3 separate regions of the Homo sapiens genome follow, and all the other regions are linked to region 2. The links are contacts of gene promoters, found by promoter capture Hi-C in human tissues and cell types (Jung and others, 2019). All regions are on one chromosome and are shown on one strand. Each heading gives the region's core, a stretch centred on a gene start or on the middle of the fragment in contact. The rest is flanking DNA. Distances are from core to core; before and after follow the strand shown. Region 1 overlaps HHAT (hedgehog acyltransferase). Region 2 holds the start of SERTAD4 (SERTA domain containing 4). Region 3 overlaps SYT14 (synaptotagmin 14).

Evidence for each region. Contacts are between HindIII fragments. The study calls those that stand out against the background at their distance.
Region 1: a fragment that was not itself captured here is called in contact with the fragment with the promoter of SERTAD4 in region 2 in 2 of the 25 tissues and cell types used here (aorta and hippocampus).
Region 3: a fragment that was not itself captured here is called in contact with the fragment with the promoter of SERTAD4 in region 2 in 2 of the 25 tissues and cell types used here (aorta and hippocampus).

The regions. Positions count from the first base shown.
Region 1 is chr1:210,339,819-210,343,462 of GRCh38, reverse strand. The region is part of intron 1 of HHAT (hedgehog acyltransferase); the gene reads right to left. Among named protein-coding and RNA genes, the nearest start is that of HHAT, 13 kb to the right of the region's middle. The HindIII fragment of the contact is 7,127 bases long and covers 1-3,644 here.
Region 2 is chr1:210,231,119-210,234,608 of GRCh38, reverse strand. It overlaps SERTAD4 (SERTA domain containing 4), which reads right to left and starts at 1,813. Exons shown (of 4, transcript NM_019605.5): 1 at 1,598-1,813. SERTAD4-AS1 (SERTAD4 antisense RNA 1) reads left to right here and starts at 724. Exons shown (of 2, transcript NR_024337.2): 1 at 724-974; 2 at 2,838-3,153. RefSeq lists an enhancer at 1,402-1,935. The HindIII fragment of the contact is 6,882 bases long and covers 1-3,490 here.
Region 3 is chr1:210,112,912-210,116,247 of GRCh38, reverse strand. All of the region lies in intron 6 of SYT14 (synaptotagmin 14), which reads right to left. Among named protein-coding and RNA genes, the nearest start is that of SERTAD4, 120 kb to the left of the region's middle. The HindIII fragment of the contact is 4,534 bases long and covers 1-3,336 here.

The sequences.
Region 1 (3,644 bases), core at 924-3,423, 110 kb before region 2:
GCAATGGTTACTATTTGAGACTGTCACTACGACAGTCACTACTGTTACTACTTGAGACAGTCATTAGGAGACTGAAGGAAGGAGGACGAAGGCAGAAATGAAAACTTAAAAGTAACTATTTTAAAGGAAGGGGCCAGGGGAAGAAGAGAGCTCCCTGCTTCTAGGGAGCAAAGGCAGCAACCTCGAGCTTCTACAGCCCTTTGTTTTTATTGGGCAGAAAGAGCAGGGAGGAGGAGGTAATGACTGGTCAGCTGCTTGATTGATCACAGGTTCACGTTATTGCTAACAGGCTTCAGATTTGCCTAATCACAAGAAACACTGTGCCTGGGTGGTGACTGCCCCCCAGCATTCTTTCTGGGAGGCAGACACAGTTTGTCAGTTTGCCAACAACCTGCTTTCATGAGAAACAGTTTGCTGTTTACTCATATAGTCTCCAGTGGTATACTGAGTTGATCACGACCCTCATTCTTTCGGCCTTCAACACTCGCCCACTTATCTTAGGAAAATTATTTCCCTACTTTGTTTTCCCTGTTTATTTCAGCTGTGCAGCCAGAAAGTAAATCAGAGTAGATATGTCTTAAGGGATTTATGACACAATGTAAAAGAAAAGGAAAACTATATATTTGGGAATATAACTGGAACCTTTTTAAAATGTCCAGGCCCTTAGAGGTTCCCAAAAACTCTCTCACAAAATTACCAAGTTTCCATTTCTCATACTCTAAACAAGCATGTCCCTCTTTAGGCAGAGCAATCAGGCTGAAATCAAGGAGGTTCTTACTCAAATGTGTAAGTGATGTTTCTTTTCTGTTTTCATGCAGTCAGTCCTGCACCAACATTATCAGCTAAGTGGGTAGCTGTGAGATAGCCTAGAAAAGTCATCACCACTTACAGCATCATTTCTATAGAAAACGGCCAATCTATAGGGACACAGCCTGTGTTTAAGTAGCAGTCTACCTGATTAATCTACACAAATGAGATTGCACTATTGATATGTAATAGTGAAGGAGGGTTGTAGGGATGTGTGATGGTGAGATGTGTCTAAGAACACTTCCCCAGTGTGGGAATACTGGTCGGAACTGTAAAGAAGATAAAGTGTGGATGGTTCAGGGAAGGGAGAACAGGAGCCAAGTGGTAAGGAGTCTTAAAACATACGATTTCATGTTTAAATTTTATTTCCTGCAGAAACCTCAGGCTTGCAAGCCAGTACATAAAATTATTTGAATGAAGCTCTACAAAGCAGCCCCTTGATGCTGTGGTAGACCCAAGAGGCAGGGAGGTTGATGATTTAGGCCCTTAGTGAAAGTGGAGAGAGTGCTGGAACCAAGCCACACAGATGGGGAAAAATTGAGTTGTCCTTGGCATCAAAATAGTCCAGAAGCTGGTAGGGGGAAAAAAGAGGAAGATGAAGAAGATAAAACAGCAACTCCAAAGCTGTAAGACAACAGGATCTTGAAGCTAAATGTTGTTGAAAAGAGTGAGAATTTTGAGGCAAGTGAGGACAAAGCGGTAGAACGTGCATTTAATACTAGATGTTAAAGGAAATCATAGCAAAGTTTTCCCTGGAATCAGAGGGAAGGAATTCAGACTGGAGGAATAGGGAGCTTTCTCCACCTCCAAATTGGGTACAAACACCCCAAGGTTGAATATTTCAAAAAATATATTTATCTGGGAATTATAGAACTCAAGAGGGCCACAGAATAAAATCTTAGCTGTAAAATGGCAAGAATCTCTCAGCTCACAGAACTTTTTCTATACTGGAGCCACTTGCATTTGCATTTACTTTGGAATTTAACACTCCACCTGCTTTCAAAGATGCCATCTACTCGGATCCTCTCAGGAGGGCTAAGTTTTTAGGTCCCTTTCAGGAATCAGAATCCTGCTCAGGAAGAAGCAGCGATCTACCCACGGACAGAGAAGCCAGCAATGGAGCAAAAATTAGAACCAAAATTCCCAACCCCCACTGTCATACAGGCAGAAATCCTGTTCCTTGATCTTGGAAGAAAAGTACAGCACACCTTGCCAAAGCCTGAAACATACATAAACATAACGGCTGCAAGATGCTTTTCCCCCAGCAACTTCCAATATCATTTCAAAAATACTTTAGCTTTACTTCTGATGCAGGCAACTAATGGATTCCAACACTTCCATTTTAAATTTTTTCTGCTTTTAAATCTTGATATCAAGCACTAAATGGGCTATAACCCAATACTCACATGCACCAGAGAACTTTAACAAGACAGCTCTCATCATTAAGCTAACAATCCCTCCATACCAGCATCACCATCGTCACTTCTACTGACTCACTGCTTAATGTCCTAAATGAAGATTTCCCTCTACTGAGTTTTCTTATGCTTTAGTAATAGCTGTACTATAACAAGTACTATTTACAGATTTCCTATGCTGAAAAGGCACTTTACAAGTATTATCTCACTTAATCTTCATAACAAACCTTTGAGGTTGGTGCTTCTGATAACCTCACTTAACACAAGAGGAAACCAAGGCCCAGAAAGGATAAGTAAACCCGCCCCAAATCACACAGCTGGTAAGCAGCAAAGCTTAGATTCATACCCAGTAAGTCTAACTCCAGAGCCTTCCCTCAGCCACCTCACTATTCTTACAGAGTGTACTGGACTCATTTTTTCCAAAATCTATAATGAAATCAATCCATTAGGAAAGCTAGAATATAAGTGGTCTAAATGTAATAGAATTTTTAAACGTTATGCATAACGTTAGACACTCTCTGATAAAAAAATTTAAATCAATAAAATGTAATCAAAATACACATGAAATATCTAACTCACATACATTCCTTAAAAGATTTACTGAAAAAGGCAAACTAAACCTAACCGATTTACCTTGGAAATAAGAGGGGAAAGTCAGCAGTTATGCAGAGATAAGAGTAAAATTGAAATAGCTCTAAATTCAGGAACAAATGAGCACTCTGGAAACCACAAGCAATAAAAGTGAAAGAAGCACATGCCCACTGAAATGACAACGGCTTTAAAGAAAATGAAATAGTAGTGCAATATTCTAGCATATTCGGAAAAAGTGGTATGAGACTTTTGCCTTTTCCAGGGTCCAATTTTCATGAAACTGAATCCCATTTTGTAGACTCTAAATTACATGATTTTCTCCAAGAAAACCACCAAGTCCAGATTCCCATATCACAATTCTCTCCAAACCCCACTTGAGTCTTTTTTTTTTTTTTTTTTTTTTTTTTCTGAGACAGAGTCTTGCTCTATCCCCCAGGCCGGAGTGTGCTGCCCCACTAATTTTTGTGTTTTTAGTAGAGACTGGGTTTTGCCATGTTGCCCAGGCTGGTCTTGAACTCCTGGCCTCGAGTGATCCTCCCGCCGCAGCCTCCCAAACTGCTGGAATTACAGGTGTGGGCCACTGTGCCCAGTCCCCATTTAAGAGTCTTACAAAGACTTATTCTTCAACCCACATAATACTAAGAGGAAACACTTCTCCAAACCCAGAAAGGTTTCACCAACACAGAAGAATGACTAGATAGACTGGAAGAGGTGCACTGGAGTGGGGAAAAAAGTCTAATTACAGAATAGTTTAAAATATATACCCACTACTTCCACATCCGCACCAACATATTATGTATTAGTTATGTATTGCTGCATAAGAAACCATCA
Region 2 (3,490 bases), core at 564-3,063:
AATGGCATCAAGCCCCTGACCTCCACATTGTCCCAAAATGATCTCAATAGCTTGTCCGGCTCCTGGTGGTGGTAGTGGAAGGGACTGGATGGGCGGAACAAAATTCTTCAACCCTTCTAAACAAACAGATGTCGCTTTTCTGCCGTTCCTGCAGTACACCTGTCTGCCCTGGGAAGTACATTTCTCAGCTGCAGCCCCGCGAGGCCAAGAGCTTGAAGCTGGGTCCTGTGGTTGGGGCTGCAGGTGCTGGGCCTAAAGAGCACGAAGGGGTGCTCCGATGCCCGAGCCCTGGTGCCCAAGGTGTGTGTGTGTGTGGCGGTTGCGGGGGTGGGGTCCGAGGTTTGGAGGGCCGACCTCTTGAAGGCGGGCGGCAGCCACCAACCACATCCTGGCTCCCGCACAGACACACCCCCGGGGTGTCGGTGCCGCAGCCCTCAGCCCCTCCCCGGGTAGCCAGCAGCGCCCGGTCGGCCGCTGGCCGCAGGAGAAAGTAAACAACACCCCAAGTGTCCGGGAACAAAGGCAAGTTGTCTTTCTACGGTGCCGCAGCCGTGTGCCTCTTCTGAAGAATAAGAGCTATTATTATTCTTTATGTCTTATCCTTTTTTTTTTTTAAAAAAAAAACCAAGTTTCCTTCTAAGGGAAATAAACACCAAAGGTAGGATTCCAAGGAAATGACTCACAGCGGCTGGCAGGGCTCTGGCGGGGCTGGCCCGGGCCCCCGCGCTCCAGCCCGCAGCAGATGTCGGCCCGGCCTTCCCTCCCTCCCTTGCCGGCCAAACCCGCTGGAAGCCCGCGGTTGCGGGAGCGCCCTGCGCCCGTGGGACCTGGCGGCGAGGACGCCTATTCCCTGCTTCTGCGACCACAGCTGGGCACTCGGAAAGTTGCTAGGGCCGAAGAGGCGGGAGGGGAGGAAGGGAAGCGAGAGGCGGAGGCGTGGACCAGGCGGGCAGCAGCCTCAGCCCGCCGAGGAGGTGAGCTGAGGACAGAGGAGCCGCCGCCGCCCGCAGCGCAGCTCTGCTGCCTGGGAGGAGGGTGCGGGGGCGGAGGTGGCGGGGGACAGAAGGTGTCAGCTACTGCATCAATTCCTTTTTCTTGCAAACGCGCGCTCCTGACATCCACAATCCCTCTCTCCCCACCTGCCAAGCGCCGCGGCATCCGGACCTGGGGGCACCCCTCCTACTTAACCCCTTCCCCTACGATGAGGGACTAAGCGGCCACGGAGGACCATGAGGTCTCACCAGAGCTTCTGACCCCACCCGCCCCTGGAGTTGTCTCGGTGCGCGCGGGTGGCAGCCCGAGCAGCCCTAGAGGAGGCGGCGGTTCCCGCCCTGGTGAAGGCGCCGCGGCGCACGCTAGCCCAGGGAAAAGCCCGCGCCGCCTCCGCGCCCAGCTGTGCCTTGGCCCCCACGCCGCCCCGACTCCGCTCCGGCCGCTGCGAGTCCACTCGGTGACCTCGGCACAGCCCTGGTGCCAAGAGGGCGCGCGGGAGGCCGCGTGGGTGCCCGTCTGCGAGGGCAGGAGCCCCGGGGGGCCCTCGCCCTCCACCCTGCCCGGCCCTCCCGCCCCCGCGGCCCGCGCCCAGCCCGGCTCTTACCGCGGGGTCAGCGGGGAGGCGGCGGCCGCAGCGCTTGAGCTGCTGCTGGTCCGCTCTGGGCTCGGCGCCAGCCCGGCCGCCGGTGCACACTCGCGGGTCCCGGCCCGGCCGCCCGCTCGGCGGTGACTGCGGGTGCGCGGCGGGCAAGGGTCCCGGCAGGTCCCGCCGCCGCGACTGGGGCGCTGCGCCGCCGTCGCTGCAGACGGTTATGGTAATGAGCGGCTCTGTCTAGCGAGGAGCGTGTGAAACCCGTCAATCCTGTTTGCCATTTCCCCGTGGATTTCCGAGGAGAGGTTCTGCAGGATGCCCCCAGGGTGAGAGAGGGAACATGACAAGCGCGCCCGCTCTCCCTCCCTCCCTCTGCTCAGGCCGCCGCCGCCGCTCCTCAGGCTGCACACGGGGCGCCTTTCCCGCACCCCCACCCCAGCCCGCCCCCTGCCTCCTTCCCTGCTTCCCGCCCTCCCTCCTCCTTTTCCTCCCCTCCCCTCCCGGTGCCCGGGGACACGCGGGCCCAGCTCCAGCCCGCAGCCCAGACCCCACGCGCTCTCGGGCTCCCGCCCTAGCCCTGGGGGCTTGGCTCCAGCCGAATAATGTATTCACTCTGGAACCTTCCGAGATATCTTGTCTTTTTAAATTTGGTTTAGTTTTGTTGTTGTTGTGTGTGCGTGTGATTAAAAAAAAAATCTGTGCCTTTCCCACCCTTTGCAAAAGACTTTCTTCTCCTTTGCCACAGCAAACGGAGATGAGAAACAGATGTCTTTGCAGGACCAAACAGTTATTCTCCCTCGCCGCCCGCCCCCGCCCGTTTCCCTCCTGAGCTGCGTACGTATTAAAAAAAAAAAAAAAAGCAACCTTGGTCCTGCTGCAACTTGAATTGGCAACCCTTTCTGGGTGGGGAGCCTCCAGGGAAAACCTCCAGGAAATAAAAAGTAATACAAGAGATTGTCCTTGCTCAAGAGAATGTAATTTAAGCCTTGGAATCAGAATATTTTGCAAATAGTAATTTTCTCCTATAGTGGCCTCAGAGTTTATTTTTTAAAATCATTAATTCATAACTTCTGTCTAGGGACCCCTCCATAGTCGAGATGGGTCATTTCAGGTGTAATGAAGGCAGAGGCTTGGAAGGCATAGACCTAATAAAATCGGGAGAAGGCACCTGCACAAAAGTGTTACAAAGACTATAATGTTTGTTTACTGCCACTATACCAGATGTGCTAAATATAACACTTCTTTAAAACAGTGATCCTCCGACTGTGAAAAACCAGACCTCTGGCTGCCTGGCTCCCTAGGAATCAAGAAGACGCACAGACTGAAAATCAAGGGAGGAAGGAACAAGATCAAGGATGAGGATTAGCATCTGCAAATTGAACTCTATCTAATTTGCATGTTTATTTCTTAGAATTGTAATTAAATTTGTGTAATAAATGTTTTCCATTTCATTTGTACACTTAAAACTTGGGTGACTGACATGCAGTTAAGTGAATTTCCTTTTTTTAAAAGCAAATGTAGATTATTCAATAAAGCAGCAAACCAATATTAAACATAATTAGAACTAATTTGTTTTGAAGGTGTTTTTGTTGAACTTTGTACATTAAAGACTCTCAGAGGTTTTAAGGGTATTAGGAAGCTGAGAGATGGCAATTATGCTTAAAACAGATGAACCCAACAGCCTACCAAGAGCATTATTTCATTTTTTCCAAAAGACATTCCAGGGTTGCATGCCTAAAATTGGGAATTGGGCATCCATCTTGGCTTTATTCTGAACCATATTAAATTGCATTGGCTCATGCATGATGTGGGCCATTATGATGATAATTTAAGAATTGTAAAGATGCCATTTTGTGCAGTCAATGGAAGTTGCATGTCCAGGTTAAGAGTAGAGTATAATTTTCA
Region 3 (3,336 bases), core at 312-2,811, 120 kb after region 2:
CACCCATCCATTCATTCAACATTTATACAGCAATAATTAGTGTCAGGCCTCTGGGCCCAAGCCTGCACATATACATCCAGATGGCCTGAAGTAACTGAAGAATGACAAAAGAAGTGAAAATGGCTGGTTCCTGCCTTAACTGATGACATTACCTTGTGAAATTCCTTCTCCTGGCTCAGAAGCTCCCCCACTGAGCACCTTGTGACCCCCGCCCCTGCTCACCAGAGAACAACCCCTATTGACTATAATTTTCCACTACCCACCCAAATCCTATAAAACGGCCCACCCCTACCTCTCTTCGCTGACTCTCTTTTCGGACTCAGCCTGCCTGCACCCAGATGATTAAAAAGCTTTATTGCTCACACAAAGCCTGGTGGTCTCTTCACACAGATGCACATGAAATTTGGTGCCGTGACTCAGACTGGGAGACCTCCCTTGGGAGATCAATCCCTTGTCCTCCTGCTCTTTGCTCCATGAGAAAGATCCACCTACGACCTCGGGTCCTCAGACCAACCAGCCCAAGGAACATCTCACCAATTTTAAATCGGGTAAGTGGCCTCTTTTTACTCTCTTCTCCAACCTCTCTCACTATCCCTCAACCTCTTTCTCCTTTCAACCTTGCCGCCATCCTTCAATCTCTCCCTTCTCTTAATTTCAGTTCCTTTCCTTTTCTGGTAGAGACAGAGAAGACACATTTTATCCATGAACCCAAAACTCCGGTGCTGGTAACGGACTCTGGAAGACAGTCTTCCCTTGGTGTTTAATCACTGCGGGGACGCCTGCTTGATTATTCACCCATGTTTCAGAGGTGTCTGATCACTGCAGGGATGCCTGCCTTGATCCTTCACCCTTAGTGGCAAGCACCACTTTCCTGGGGGGCAAGCACCCCCCAACCCTTCTCTCTGTGTCTCTACCCTCTCTTTTCTCTGGGCTTGCATCCTTCACTATAGACAACCTTCCACCCTCCATTCCTCCTTCTTCTCCCTTAGCCTGTGTTCTCAAGAACTTAAAACCTCTTCAACTCACACCTGACCTAAAACCTAAATGCCTTATTTTGTTCTGCAATGCTGCTTAACCCCAATACAAACTCGACAATGGTTCCAAATAGCCAGAAAATGGCACTTTCGATTTTTCCATCCTACAAGATCTAGATAATTCTTGTCGTAAAATGGGCAAATGGTCTGAGATGCCTGATGTCCAGGCATTCTTTTACACATCAGTCCCTCCCTAGTCTCTGTTCCCAATGCAACTCGTCCCAAATATTCCTTCTTTCCCTCCTGCCTGTCCCCTCAGTCCCAACCCTAAGCATTGCTAAGTCTTTCCAATCTTCCTTTTCTATGGACCCATCTGACCTCTCCCCTCCTCCCCAGGCTGCTCCTTGCTAGGCCGAGCCAGGTCCCAATTCTTCCTCATTCTCTGCTCCCCCACCCTATAATCCTTTTATCACCTCCCCTCCTCACACCTGGTCCAGTTTACAGTTTTGTTCCATGACTAGCCCTCCCTGACCTGCCCAACAATTTCATCTTAAAGAGGTGGCTGGAGCTAAAGGCACAGTCAAGGTTAATGCTCCTTTTTCTTTATCCGACCTCTCCCATATCAGTTAGCGTTTAGGCTCCTTTTTATCAAATATAAAAACTCAGCCCAGTTCATGGCCCGTTTGGCAACAACCCTTAGATGCTTTACAGCCCCAGACCCTGAAGGGTCAGAAGGCCATCTTATTCTCAATATGCATTTTATTACCCAATCTGCTCCCAATATTAAATAAAGCTCCAAAAATTAAATTCCAGCCCTCAAACCCCACAACAGGACTTGATTAACCTCGCCTTCAAGGTGTACAATAATAGAGAAGAGTTGCAATTACCTGCCTCTGCTGTGAGAGGAACCCCAGCCACATCTCCAGCACACAAGAACTTCAAAACACCTAAGCCACAGTGGTCAGGCGTTCCTTCAGGACCTCCTCCCCCAGGATCTTGCTTTAAGTGCTGGAAATCTGGCCACTGGGCCAAGGAATGCCTGCAGCCCGGGATTCCTCCTAAACCATGTCCCATCTGTGAGGGACCCCACTGGAAATCGGACTGTCCAGCTTGCCTGGCAGCCACTCCCAGAGTCCCTGGAACTCTAGCCCAAGGCTCTCTGACTGACTCCTTCCCAGATCTTCTCGGCATAGCGGCTGAAGACTGACACTGCCCGATTGCCTCAGAAGCCTCCTGGACCAACACAGACTCTTTCAGTAACTCTTACAGTGGAAGGTAAGTCCGTCCCCTTCTTAATCAATGTGGAGGCTACCAACTCCACATTACTTTCTTTTCAAGGGCCTATTTTCTTTGCCTCCATAACTGTTGTGGGTATTGATGGCCAGGCTTCTAAACCTCTTAAAACTCCCCAACTCTGGTGCCAACTTGGACAACATTCTTTTATGCGCTCCTTTTTAGTTATCCCCACCTGCCCAGCTCCCTTATTAGGTGGAGACATTTCAACTAAATTATCTGCTTCCCTGACTATTCCTAGGCTACAGCCACACCTCATTGCCACCCTTTTCCCCAGTTCAAAGCTTCCTTCACATCCTCCCCTTCTATCTCCCCACCTTAATCCACAAGTATGGGACACCTCTACTCCCTCCTTAGCAACCGATCATGCACCCCTTACCATCTCATTAAAACCTAATCACCCTTACCCCGCTCAACACCAATATCCCATCCCACAGTATGCTTTAAAAGGATTAAAGCCTGTTATCACTTGCCTGTTACAGCATGGCCTTTTAAAGCCTATAAACTCTCCTTACAATTCACCCATTTTACCTGTCCAAAAACCGGACAAGTCTTACAAGTTAGTTCAGGATCTGTGCCTTATCAACTAAATTGTTTTGCCTATCCACCTCATGGTGCCAAACCCATATACTCTCCTATCCTCAGTACCTCCCTCCACAACCCCTCCACAACCCATTATTCTGCTCTAGATAAACCTAGCTGACCCCACAGATCCTAAATCCTTTCCCCACTCCCCTTTCCATTCCTTAAAAAACAGCTCCCACACTAGCTCTCCCTAACTCATCACTCCCTTTTCATTACACACAGCCGAAGTGCAGGGCTGTGCGGTCAGAGTTCTTACACAAGAGCCGGGACCACGCCCTGTAGCCTTTTTGTCCAAACAACTTGACCTTAGTGTTTTAGCTTAGCTCTCATGTCTGCGTGCGGCGGCTGCCGCTGCTTTAATACTTTTAGAGGCCCTCAAAATAAAAAACTATGCTCAACTCACTCTCTACAGTTCTCAAAACTTGCAAAATCTATTTTCTTCCTCACACCTGACGCATATACTTTCTGCCCCCTTCCACCACCT